Linked DNA regions of Homo sapiens: regions 2, 3 and 4 are each linked to region 1. The links are contacts of gene promoters, found by promoter capture Hi-C in blood cells and fetal thymus (Javierre and others, 2016). All regions are on one chromosome and are shown on one strand. The core of a region is centred on a gene start or on the middle of the fragment in contact, and the rest is flanking DNA. Distances in the headings are between cores, read along the strand shown. Region 1 holds the start of SLC26A8 (solute carrier family 26 member 8). Region 2 overlaps ETV7 (ETS variant transcription factor 7). Region 3 holds the start of ETV7 (ETS variant transcription factor 7). Region 4 overlaps PNPLA1 (patatin like domain 1, omega-hydroxyceramide transacylase).

Region 1 (3,245 bases), core at 739-3,238:
AGCAGGTGGAAAGTTGTCTTTAAGGAACTCCATCAAATGTCTGGCTAACAGCAGCAAGGGTAAACGCATGGTTTCCTTATTATTTTTTTTAAGTAATTTTCTTTGGAATTTCTCCAGCTCCATTATGTCTTTCTTGATTTCATAGAAATCCTAGTGGCTCATTTTCATGTACTAGCAGGACACTTCCCAAGAAGATGCAATGACCAGAAACTCCTACTGTTGAGTAGGCCCCACTTAGCAAGACCTACTGAATCAGAAACTCTGGGGGCCATCAGTCTGTTTTAAGAAGCTGTCCAGACTGCTGGGCCCCCAGAGATTCTGATTCAGTAGGTCTTGCTAGGTAGAAAAAAAGCAAAGAAGCTGTCCAGGTGATTCTGATAAAAATTAAAGTATGACTACCACTATAAATATAGTGGATTATCTTTCATGAGCCTTTCAGTGCTAAATTTGGGGGCCCTGTTAAAATACAAGCACTTTTGGCCTAGCTCTTTCACCCTCCATAGTACCCTTATCCATCCATCCATCCATCCATCCATCCATCCATCCATCCATCCATTTATCTAATTATTTACATTATCTGTGTTCAGAGTGCTTTAAAAGTAAAGAATAGGCCAGACATGGCTCAGTGGCTCATGCCTGTAATCCCAGCACTTTGGAAGGCCAAGGCGGTTGGATCAGCTGAGGTCAGGAGTTCAAGACCAGCCTGGCCAACATGGTGAAACCCCGTCTCTAATAAAAATACAAAAATTAGCCGAGCATGATGGCGTGCCTGTAGTCCTGGCTACTCAGGAGGGTGAGGCAGGAGAATCGCTTGAACCTAGGAGGCAGAGGTTGCAGTGAACCGAGATCAAACCACTGCATTCCAGCCTGGGCGACAGAGCAAGACTCTGTCTCAAAAAAAAAAAAAAAAAAAAAAGTCAAGAATAAAAAGTTTAAATACAATCCAATTTTTTAGCTATTGACCCAAATAATATGAAATCTTGAAAGCTAGTTTAGTTGCAGGAATATCTTCCCCCTGATATTGTTAACTTTCTTATGTTTTCTATAATCACGGAAAGGCAAAATTTACTTCCGAATTTTCAAAATAAGCATTTGTAATTCCATCAGAAACAACCCTACACCTGTTACTACCTAGGTTTTTATGGAGAATGTATTGGGAATACAGAAAAGGTATAAGCAAAGAGCCTGGCCTTTAGATCCTTTAGTCACTCTGGCTAGTGGCTAGGGATGACTAGTAAGATGACAGTCCTTAAGCGGATGACCATTGGACACATAAACATAGGACAACCACCTTCCATGCAATGTGGATAGAGTAACATGGTGTGTTGGAGAGATGCTCATTATTGGGGTGGGGGTGCTGGAGAAGGCTTCACGGGGCCCCTGACACATCAACGGCATTTGACATGAAAAGAAAGGGGCAAGGAGGTGGGGGTGGGGATTCAGTCACAGGGAACAAAATTAACAAAAGCAGTGGGGTCTGAAAGGAAGAGGAACGGCCGGGCAGTCAGGCCTCAGGAGGAAATGGATGGGGTAGGCGGTGGGGTGCAGGTAGCACGTCAGTTCTGGGGCTTTTGACAATATAGACAGGAGAATTTGAAAGGATGCAGCTTGCAAAACGCACACACTGTTGTCTCTTGTCATTGCCATCCACACGGCCTTTGAAAGTAGAGACAATACCTCAGAGATAAGCTCCCAGGGACGACCATCATTCATTCATTCCACAGATACTGACTGAGTGCCCACGGCGTGCCTGGCTCTGCGGCATACCTGGGTACCTGCCGGTGACGGACGCAGCCCCCGCCCTGGGACCTGCAGCCCCCGGCGCCCAGGCGTCTCCCAGCAGCGGCTCACCTGGCTCCTTGGCGGGGGCGGGAGTGCGGGCGCTGGGATCCCACACGGCTCTCGCCTGGCTGGCGGCGCTGCGGACGCGGATACCGGCGGCGGTTCCCGAGCCGTTGTGGCCTAGCCCGCGGGCGTTCCGGGCGGGCTGAGGAGATGAGAGTGGGGGAGGGGACGAGGAAGAGGAGCATGAGCAGCTGGGCTAGGGAGCCAGGAAAGTGGTACCTGGGTCGCCCTCCTCATACCTGAGTCGTGGGATCCCCTTGGTATTTGGTAAACCTGTATACCAAGGCTCCTTCTCTCTCCGAGGTTTTGCTATTCTTGATCGAGGGCCTATTTGGTGCCAGGCCTCGTGTCCTGAACATACAGCAGTGCACATGTGTCACATGTGTACTGCACAGACGGTAATTCACTAACGTCTCCGGAAGACTTAAGCCTTCCTCAGGTCAGAAGAGGTAAAAAGAAATGGAGGCTAGGAGGGTCACCCAGGTCTCCAACCATAGGCTGTCTGCCCCACAAACCCGGCTCTCCCCACTGAATGACACCCTCCTGCCCAGATCTGCTCTGGATGCAGACATGCCATCTGCACTCACTCCCTTTACCCTCCTCCCACCCTATCCCTGTCCCTAGCACTGTCTCTCACTCCACCTTGTATTCCTGCTTGGCCCAGTTACAGTTTTACACTTGTTTGTTTGATGACTGTGTTAATGTCTACCTTATAATGCACTTTATGTATTCCTTTTTGTAAATCATCTTACCCCTATGAGGGCAAGGACTTTTATCCCTTTCATTAACTGTTTTATTATCAGTGCCTACAGCAGTGTGGTGGACATAGGAAGTATTCAATTAATTTTTGTTGAATGATTGCCCTCCCATTGATTGTAAGCTCCACACCGGCAGCAACTGTAGTTTTTAATCACTTTTAAACTGCAAGTGTTTGACACCTAGTAGGCATTTAATACACATTGGTTGAATGAGTGTATGAATATACTGCTTACTTTATCTTTACCCTTTCATTCACCCTCACCTCATCATCCCAATTTGTAGGATAAAAATGTGCATTTCTGAGGATTCCTACTTCCAAGCTTCCTCCTCACCCTTTGTAACCATTCCCTCATTCCCTTGATCCCCCCAACCCCATCCCTCATGTCTTCACAATCATGTTTTTGCTCTTACTTCCCCTTCACCCTCCATTACTTCTTAGAAAGCTTCCTATCCTCCCTAGTTTGGAACATTCTCAAGCAACATGTTTTTGTAGATAAGAGAATTCCAGCCTAAGCTACATTGGATCCAAAACAGCTTTCCATGAATCACCCATGACTATCTGTTTTTTGGTTTTATATTGCTTTCCTTGAAGAGGACTGAGGATACTGTACCACTTGAAATCATGGTCACTGTTCATAATT
Region 2 (2,961 bases), core at 139-2,638, 350 kb after region 1:
CCACAGCAGGCGGCAGTCTGCAATTTAGCACAGGGAGTGCAGGCAGCGCAGCTTTACTGGAGCTGTGAGGACAGGTGTTAGAAAGGCACTCTTGGAAGCCTCCCGGCCAGAGCCCTAGGAGCACCAGCAGGAAGGTGAAAATGATGATATCAACAGAAACAGCCACTAATGGGGCTCCTCACGCATTGTCTCAGGCAGTCTTCCTGAGTCTGGGAAGTCGTTACCTTTATCCCCAGGAAGAGGTGAGGAAATGGGCTCAGAGGTGCAGAGGTATCTAAAGTTGCCAAGCTCCTAAGTGGCAGGTAGAGCAGGGAGTCTGACCGGCTCCACCCAGCATCAGAGCCATGTGAGGGCAGGTGCTGGGCCCACAGGCTGAGGGGCTGGGCCCCTGACCCCAGGTCCCTCTCTGCCCCTGGCCCACTCACTCAGCCCCCTGGACTTCTATTAATTATAACATCCACCCCTTCAAGCTCCCTAATGGTGAGGCTCAGGAAAACCAGGCATGCCATTGGGAGGGCAAGTGGGCATCCGGGAGCAACTGTGTGATCTGAAATCCCAGGACCTGGGCCTGTCGGCTGGGCCATTGCAGGCAAGTTACACAACCTTCTCTGAGCCAGCTTCCTTGTATGGGGTGGTGAGAGAATTAGGTAACATAATAGACCACAAAACCCTCAGCACAGTGCCTGGTATACTGTAAGTGCACGAAGAATGTTAAGCATTATAATTGAAGAATTCAGTAATTGCAAGAGGCTGAAGTGGGAGGATTCCTTGAGCCCAGGAATTTGAGGCAGCAGTGAGCTATGGTGGCATCACTGCACTCCAGCCTGGCAACAGAGTGAGACCCTGTCTCTTAAAAAAAAAAAAACCCAGTAATTGTGGATCATTGTGTTTGTTATTGATACATAATATTTATGCATGTTTCTGGCGTCCATGTGAGATCTTGTTGCATGCATAGAGTGTGTAACGATCAAGTCAGGGTACTTAGGGCATCCATCACCTCAAGTATTCATCATTTCTATGTGTTGGGCCAATTGTTTTTTAGTGACTTCTAGTCATTTCCAACCCAAAAGCCAGGCTTCTGCCCACTCTGTGGCTTCATAGAATAAATGTGGTGTGGACATAACAATGGGAACAATAGACACTGGGCACTGGGGACCACTACAGGGGAAGAGCCAGGGTGGAAAAAACTACCTATCACAGGCCGGCACGGTGGTTCACGCCTGTAATCCCAGCACCAAAGGAGGCCGAGGTGGGTGGATCACCTGAGGTCAGGAGTTCAAGACCAGCCTGTGGCCAACATGGTGAAACCGTCTCTACTAATAAAACAAAAATTAGCCAGGTGTGGTGGTGGGCGCCTGTAATCCCAGCTACCCAGGAGGCTGAGGCAGGAGAATCGCTTGAACCCGGGAGGCAGAGGATGCAGTGAGTTGAGATCATGCCACAGCTCTCCAGCCTGGGCAAAAGAGCCAGACTCCCGTCTCAAAAAAAGAAAAGAAAAGAAAAGAAAAACTTCCTATCAAGTACTATGCTGAGTACCTTGGTGACAGGATTATTCATACACCAAACCTCAGTGGCACGCAATTTACCCATGTAACAAACCTGCACATGCACCCCCTGAACCTAAAATAAAAGTTGAAAAAAAAAAAGAATAAATGCAGTGTCACTATTATGACTAGAAAAACACCCTTCAGCTTATCTGTCAGTCTGTCTGGTTGTCTGCCTGTTAATCCTTTAACAATGAATGCAGAGTGGAAGTGTATCATTTGGTTAGCGCTCAGGATCTGGAGCCAGACTGCCTGGGTTCACATCACACCTCAACCAGTGCTGTGTGATCTTGGAGAAGTTACTTAACCTTTCTGTGCCTCAATTTCCATATCTGTGAAATGGGGCTAATAATAGTACCAAACTCAAAAGGCCATTGTAGAATTAAATAAGGGCTTGGGAACCACGCCTGGCACATAGTGAATGCTCAATTATTTTAAAACAGATAAAGTTTTAAAAGGCAGGTGTGGCACTCCATGCTAATGTGAGTGTCAGAATATGACTGGGTAAATTGTCCCTGTGTGGGAGACAGGGTGAGGCTTGGTGATCCCAGGTATCACTGCCCTCTGTGACCAGATTGTGGCTAGCACACAGGACAGTCAACGCTACCCTGCAATCCCCCAGCCACAGACCTCCCATCACCAGGTCAAAATAGCCCTGTCCTCATCACTCGTGACTCTGAGACTCAGACTCAGTGCACCTTCCATGGCCAGAGGAACAGCCTCCCACTCACCAGCGATCCTGCCGTCAATGGGGGCCTGCGGCATCGCGGGGAAGGAACAGACCCCCTGGGTCCTGCAGCCGAGCTCTGCACAGTGACATAAGTTGAGGGACTCCTCCTTGCCAGGGGTCCACCTTGCCAGGCCAGGGTCATCCAGGTGGCCGAAGTTGCTGGTAAGCCCTGGGTCTGGTGGCTGCAGCAGGTGGCCCCTTCGGGTGTCCATCTGAGAGGGGCCAGTCACCTCTGCAAGCAGATGAGCACCAGTGGTAGCAGGCAGTGGGCCCCAAGCCTCCCCAACTCAATCCCTCAATGGTGAGCCTGGGAGCCCTGTGGGGCAGCACTCCTGATGCTCTTTCTCCAACCAGCCCCTGGTTAGAAGGTCAGGGAGGCAGTGGGGGGCAGTGGGTGAGGGCCAGACAGCCTAAGTGCTAACCCCAGCTCCCACACAAGTAACAACCTGTCAAGCCTGTTCCCTCATCTATGAAAATGGCTGCAAAGCCAAGCAGTGACAGAGCCAGGTCTAGAACCCAGGGGCCCTGTATCCCATGTCCTCTCCATTTGCCCAACGAGTATTTATTGAGAGCCTTCTATGAACCAGGCATTGTTCTAAGAATCTTGAGCATATATCGCTGAGCTCCCAAAGCCCCTGCCCTCAGGGAGCTTATATGCTAGTTGAGAGCAGGGGAGATGGACGATTA
Region 3 (2,992 bases), core at 281-2,780, 360 kb after region 1:
AAGGGCCAGGTATAGTGGTTCAGACCTGTAATCCCAGCACTTTGAGAGGCAGAGGCGAGAGGATAGCTTGAGCCCAAGAGTTCAAGACCAACCTGGGCAACATACTGAGATTCCCATTTCTACTAAAAATTTTAAAATTAGCCAGTGTGCCTGTAGTCCCAGCTATTGGAGAGGCTGAGGTGGGAGGATTACTTGAACCCAGGAGCTGGAAGTTGAAGGTGCAGTGAGCTATGATTACACCACTGCACTCTAGCCTAAGTAAGCAACAGAGCAAGACCCTGGATCTAAAACAAAATAAAAATTTACTTTTAAAAACTCAGCTTTTCTCCTCCCCTCTACTTACGGAGTCTTCCTGGCAGCTTGCAGATCCCCCCTTCACCCAGCAGGTTAATTTGAGCTTCACATCTGGCTTGCACGTGGGTGCCTAGGGGAGGCATGGCTGCCACAGGGCTTATAGGAGAAATAGCCAATTCTCCCTCCTAGAGAGAGAAAAACCAGGACAGTCAAAGAAGAGCATCTTGGTGAAGGCTCAGCCATCTTTAAATGTCTTAAGAATTTTTTTGGAAGGGAAAGAGTGTTTATCTCCACCAGAAGACTGCATCAACCTTAAAGGTAGGAACCATGTATATCTTCAACTCAGTACCATCAACATTTTGTACCCAGTGGACACAATAAATGACATCCTTCCAATTCAAGCTTTCCATGCATGTGCCTAACTCCAAGAGGGATCCCCTGCCAAGACTTGTATGATTGAAATCTGAAAGCCTAGGAATCCTCACTGGATCCCTGGTGAGGACAACACAGGAAACCTGAGGGGCCAGGATCAAAAGACCTTAAATCAGAAATAAACAAATAGACCAGGTGCGGTGGCTCACACCTATAATCTCAACACTTTGGGAGTCTGGGGCGGGTGGATTACTTGAGGTCAGGAGTTTGAGACCAGCCTGACCAACATAGTGAAACATTATCTCTACGAAAAATACAAAAATTAGCCGTGCGTGGTGACCGGCGCCTGTAATCCCAGCTACTCAGGAGGCTGAGGCAGGAGAATCACTTGAACCCGGGAAGCGGAAGTTGGAGTGAGCCAAGATCACGCCACTGCACTCCAGCCTGGGCAAGAGAGCAAGACTCCGTCTCAGAACAAACAAACACTATTTTCAAAAGAGAAAAAGAAAGGATAAGGATACATTTCTGAATCCTAAGGTCTCACCACGGGAAGCCTGTATCTTTACAATTCAACAATCAGCATGGCCCCCAGAGATGACGGGGTTCATCCATTCAGATGAGAAAATGAAGAAAGTGGCAGGATTTTGTAGGAATAGGAAGCTCCTTCGGGCTCATGCCCAGCCACAGGCTGCCACAGCACGGAAAGGAAAAGTGAAACCAGCTCCATCAAGTCATTTTTCACTCTAGGATTGTCAAAAGCTTTACATTCATCTCTTGGGATCCGAGGAGAGATATCTGCCGAGAGAGAATTTGGATCGGAGCCAGCAAAGCAAACTCCAGAAGCCTTGGCTGCTGCGAAAGGGGATTCAACACCTTTCCGGGTCGTTCTCACTTCATTTCCAGCCGGTCCCCCTTTGGTGCTGTTTCCCAAGTAATCAGACCTCAGGGGTTGCCTCCTGGTGGGGAAAGGGAAGCTTGCCTTGCTGGAGAAGGGGCTCAAGGCACAGGACTTGCCTCGGACTTGCCAAGGAGGCTTGCAGGAGGCTCTTTGTCTACTCCTCTGTCCTCATCCAAGTAAGAGGAGCGGGGAATTCCGAGGCTGTAACTGCCTGGGAAACGCCAGCCACGGAGCTGCTGAGGATCAGACTCCTGGGTTTCAGCATGGAGGCCAGGGAAGGGTCTGATAATGGGTATGGGTCCTGGCGAGAGGGGAGTGGAGAAAGGCCTTGGAGTGGGACGGGGCGCCAGCTCTGGGGGCAGTCTCGAGGCACCTAGAAAACCGGCGAGTGGGGAGAGGCTGCTAAAGAGGGGCTCCCTGCGAGAATGCGTTCACCAGCTGTGAGGACCTGGCTGGCGCACGAACTTCCAAAGACCTCACATCTGGTTGGTGTAGGGGCGACCAGTGGTAAGGGGGCTGCGGAAAGGGCCCGCAGGGGCTGTGCGTGATGCCTTCAGAGCTGTGTATGACACCGAGAGAGTCAGGGGCGGTGACCCGCGTCTGGAGGTGGAAGGGGAAGTGAGTGAGGGATGGATGTGAGGTTTAGGAATGTGTTGGAAAGAGAGATTCCCGCCAGGTAAAAGGTCTGATAAAATAGGTTTGGAAATCTAGGTGGTGAGGAAAGGATGCGGGAGCAGGTGGCTCTGCGTGCGCGCTGCGTGTTCAGCCGCCAGGCTCTTACCTGCATTACAGGTGGAGGTGAGGAAGCCACCGGCTTTCTGTCTTGAGCGCTCCCCTGGCTGTGGCTGCTGGGGCCCTAGGCCCGCGCCCCGCAGTCCTCCTCCGCCAAACCCCTAACCTGGCTCCGAGAACTGGAAGGTCGCGTGGGAGGAAATCTCTTTCGAGAAGCGCCAAGGCGTGTGCGCCCGGGTCCTCCGCAGGCGGGCAGGCGCGCGAGGCGCTCCGGTAATCGCTATCCTTCCGGGAAACGAAAACGAAAGAGCGGGATGCGGTTCCACTTGCGCCGCTGCGGGCTAGGAGCAGGGCAGGGCAGGGCAGGGGCCGGCCCCGTGGGAGCGCAGCACCGGGGCGCTGCCCGCTCGCTAGCCTGGGAGGCGTGGGTCCTGCACACAGCCTCCAGCCGGCGGACAGTCCCTCTGGCGACCTGGCCTTGGCTCCCACTGGGGCAGAGCCGGGATTCTGCAGGATCTGAGGATCTAAGGGGACCCCTAGTCCTGAACTCGGAACCAACTGCGTCTCTCACGGTCCCGAGCCCAGGACCAGGAAGGACCCTGTGAGTCTCCGCACATAGGATAGGAAGGGGCCTCGCATGGTGCCTCTCCCTTTAGGGGTGAGTGACCTTCCCGGCCCCGATACTGTCTCGGCCTG
Region 4 (3,369 bases), core at 280-2,779, 270 kb after region 1:
AAAAATACTCTGTGGGTGAGATTAAGGGGTTGGATGAGATTTTCTTCCTAGGAGGTGCTCACTTATTTTTCCCTTCTTCAAAATTCCTTCCTGCTTCCCAAGCTCCCCTTATCCTGTCTCTACTTTCTCCTGGGTCCTTTCTCCCAACAAGGGGGGTGGAGAGGCTGGACGGACAGGAGAGCAGGATGGAGAAAACCTGGGCCCTGGAGGCAAGTAGCTCTAAGGCCCCCATCCCACCCACAAGCTGTGTGACCTCCGGATAATTGCTTCCCCTCTCTAAGGCTTGGTTTCCTAATCTGTAAAAAAAAGGGGGTTTAGATCCTAGCTCCTGACACCTACTAACTGTGTGATATTGAGCAGGTAATTAATCTCCTGGGGCCTCAGTTTCCTCATCTGTAAAAGGGGCCTTATGGTTTTATTTTGAAGATTAAAGGAGCAAAGCCACAAGCCCTTATCACAATGCTCAAATAAATGGTAGCTCTCATGAGAACGTCAAAGTGCTGAGTCCTAGCCACAGTCAGTCCCGCCTACTGCTGGGTGAAATCTGATGGTGGCACTTCAGGAATCTGTCCCCAAAATTGAGCCAGTATATGGATGGGGGCAGGCTTCTTCAATGGCCCTGGAATCACTCCAAGTAGGAACAGATACAACTCCTAAAGGAGAAATGGTCTCGTGCTGACTACCAGCTATTTTTGCTTCCTCTTCCGATTTGCCAGTGTATGGCACGGGTTTCTCAGCGCAGATTTCACCTCCACCACCTCAGTCCTCTTGGATTTGGTGGGACTGGATTTTTCTCTCTGCATCAGATGTGAACAGGAACTACTGACACATACTGAGAAACTGCAGTTGGTCTCCAGAGCCACACTCTTATCCCCACCTGCCATCTGGGAACAGAAAATGGGAGTCCGCCCAGCCTCCCCTGGGCTGCTTTCTGGGTAGGGGTCACCTCCAGCAGGAAACTACACCCCAAAAGGTGTCACCCTCCATTCCTCAGCTCACATTCTCACAGCCTCTTTCTCCTCCCTCCCAAGGGAGGAGAATTAATTATTCTTGCTGCCAGGCAAGCCACTCTGTCTACACTCGGCCCATCCTTGCAGCGGCCTTCTGCCAAAGGGAATGGCAGCGCAGGCTGGCGTGCTTGAAAATCCGCATTCCCCACACAGATGTGTGAATGTGGGTGCTGAGTGAGGTTGGAGCTCAGAGGATGCCATGTCTAAAATATCCATCCGGCATTCAGGCATGCCTGGCCAAACCTCTCTTCCGCCCTCCTCCCCCACTCCCTTCTTCCCTCTCACAGTTTGGTAAGTGACTCTGTCTCTCTGTACACACACACACACACACACACACCCTGTGAAACCATCACCACAATTAAGTTAGTGAATAATTCGTCATCCCCAAAATTTCCTCATGCCCTTTCGTGATCCCTCCCACCTTCCCTCACCCCCCGCCATTCCCAAGCAACCCCTGATCTGCTTTCTGCCATTATAGATTAATTCACTACAATGTGAACTCTTTTTTAAAAATCTGAATTCTTTCACTCTGCATAATTATTCTGAGATTCATCCATGTTGTTGAATGTATAAATAGTTTGTTCCTTTTTACGTTCCGTGCCACTGTATGAATGTACCACAGCTCATCTACCAAAAGAGTTGAATATACCACTGTATGCATATACCACAGCCCATTTACCCAGTCCCCTGTTGATGGACATTTAGGTTATTTTCAGATTTGGGCTATTATGGATAAAGCTGCTATGAACACTCACGCATGAGTCTTGGTGTGGACATATGCTTTCATTTCTCTTGGGTAAATACCTAGAAATGGAATGACGGGATTGCATGGTACATTCATGTTTAACATACATACACAAATATTTTAATTGTGGTAAAAAAACACGTAACAAATTTTAAGCACACAGTTCAGTAGTGTTAACTATTTCATATTGTTGTGCAGCAGATCTCTAGAACTTTTTCATCTTGCAAAACTGAGCCTTTACACACATTGATCAACAACTCCCCCTTTTCTCCTCCTCCAGCCCCCAGCAACCACCATCCCACTTTCTGTGCTGATGATTTTGACTACACTAGGTACTTCATATAAATGGAATCATGCGGTATTTGTCTTTTTGTGACTGGCTTATTTAACTTAACATAATGGCCTCAAGGTTCATCCATGTTGTAGCTGTAGCATGTGACAGGATTTTCTTCCTTTTTTGAGACGGAGTCTCGCTCTGTTGTCCAGGCTAGAGTGTGGTGGTGTGATCTCAGCTCACTGCAACCTCTGCCACCTGGGTTCAAGCGATTCTCCCGCCTCAGCCTCCTGAGTACCTGAGACTACAGGCACACGCCACCACGTCCAGCTAATTTTTGTATTTTTAGTAGAGACAGGGTTTCACCATGTTGGCCAGGATGGTCTCGATCTCCTCACCTCGTGATCTGCCTGCCTCGGCCTCCCAAAGTGCTGGGATTACTGGGGTGAGCCACCGCGCCTGGCCGATTTTCTTCCTTTTTAGAGCTGAATATATTCCACATGTTCTTTGTCCATCCATCTGACAAAGGACACTGGAGTTGCTTCCATCTTTCGGCTATTGTGGATAATGCTGCAGTGCCCATGGATGTCTCTTCCAGATCCTATTCAATTATTTTGGATATATAACCAGAATATATGTTTGACTTTTTAATAAACTGCCAAATTGTTTTCCAAAGCAGTTGTACCATGTTTCATTCCCACCAGCAGTGGATGAGCGTTCCCATTCCTCCAAAACTTTTGGGGTTTTTTTTGTTTTTTTGTCTGTTTTTTTTTTTTTTTTTGAGATGGAGTCTCGCTCTGTCACCCAGGCTGGAGTGCAGTGGCATGATCTCGGCTCACTGCAAGCTCCACCTCCTGGGTTCACACCATTCTCCTGCCTCAGTCTCCCGAGTAGCTGGGACTACAGGCGCCCGCTACCACGCCCAGCTAATTTTTTGCATTTTTAGTAGAGACGGGGTTTCGCCATGTTGGCCAGGATGGTCTCGATCTCTTGACCTCGTGATCCACCCGCCTCGGCCTCCCAAAGTGCTGGGATTACAGGCGTGAGCCACTGCGCCCGGCCAACTTTTGGTATTTTTAATTAATGCTCAGAATTTTTCATTTTAGCCCTTCTAACAGGTGCATGTCGGTAACTTATTGTGGTTTTAATCAGTATTCCTCTAATGACTAATGACTTTGAGCATCTTTTCATTTGTCTATTTGCCTCCCATAGATCTTCTTTGGTGAAGCATTCGTTCCACTCTTTTGTACATTTCTCACCTAGACTCTTAATAAGCTTTGTTTTTTTAGGGTAGTTTTAGATTTATGGATAACTTGTGAAAATAATACAGGGTGTTTGTC

Evidence for each region. Contacts are between HindIII fragments. The CHiCAGO score rates a contact against its expected background, and 5 or more counts as called.
Region 2: a contact is called between a fragment that was not itself captured here and the fragment with the promoter of SLC26A8 in region 1, in 7 of 17 cell types (naive CD4 T cells, naive CD8 T cells, total CD4 T cells and 4 more). The highest score is 9.5, in naive CD4 T cells.
Region 3: a contact is called between a fragment that was not itself captured here and the fragment with the promoter of SLC26A8 in region 1, in 3 of 17 cell types (total CD8 T cells, naive CD8 T cells and naive B cells). The highest score is 5.8, in total CD8 T cells.
Region 4: a fragment that was not itself captured here is called in contact with the fragment with the promoter of SLC26A8 in region 1 in 1 of 17 cell types (naive B cells); the score reaches 5.5 in naive B cells.

What each region holds. Positions count from the first base shown.
Region 1 is chr6:36,022,653-36,025,897 of GRCh38, forward strand. It overlaps SLC26A8 (solute carrier family 26 member 8), which reads right to left and starts at 1,989. Exons shown (of 20, transcript NM_052961.4): 1 at 1,852-1,989. RefSeq lists enhancers at 1,434-1,935, 1,936-2,435. The HindIII fragment of the contact is 10,062 bases long and covers 1-2,922 here.
Region 2 is chr6:36,369,055-36,372,015 of GRCh38, forward strand. It overlaps ETV7 (ETS variant transcription factor 7), which reads right to left. Exons shown (of 8, transcript NM_016135.4): 5 at 2,276-2,506; 6 at 1-17. Among named protein-coding and RNA genes, the nearest start is that of ETV7-AS1, 16 kb to the right of the region's middle. The HindIII fragment of the contact is 7,053 bases long and covers 1-2,961 here.
Region 3 is chr6:36,385,191-36,388,182 of GRCh38, forward strand. ETV7 (ETS variant transcription factor 7) reads right to left here and starts at 2,479. Exons shown (of 8, transcript NM_016135.4): 1 at 2,346-2,479; 2 at 344-479. The coding sequence starts at 2,351. It overlaps ETV7-AS1 (ETV7 and PTX1 antisense RNA 1), which reads left to right and starts at 1,430. Exons shown (of 2, transcript XR_926758.3): 1 at 1,430-1,740. RefSeq lists an enhancer at 1,550-2,373 and a silencer at 2,500-2,709. The HindIII fragment of the contact is 215 bases long and covers 1,424-1,638 here.
Region 4 is chr6:36,296,543-36,299,911 of GRCh38, forward strand. All of the region lies in intron 5 of PNPLA1 (patatin like domain 1, omega-hydroxyceramide transacylase), which reads left to right. Among named protein-coding and RNA genes, the nearest start is that of PNPLA1, 28 kb to the left of the region's middle. The HindIII fragment of the contact is 3,545 bases long and covers 1-3,302 here.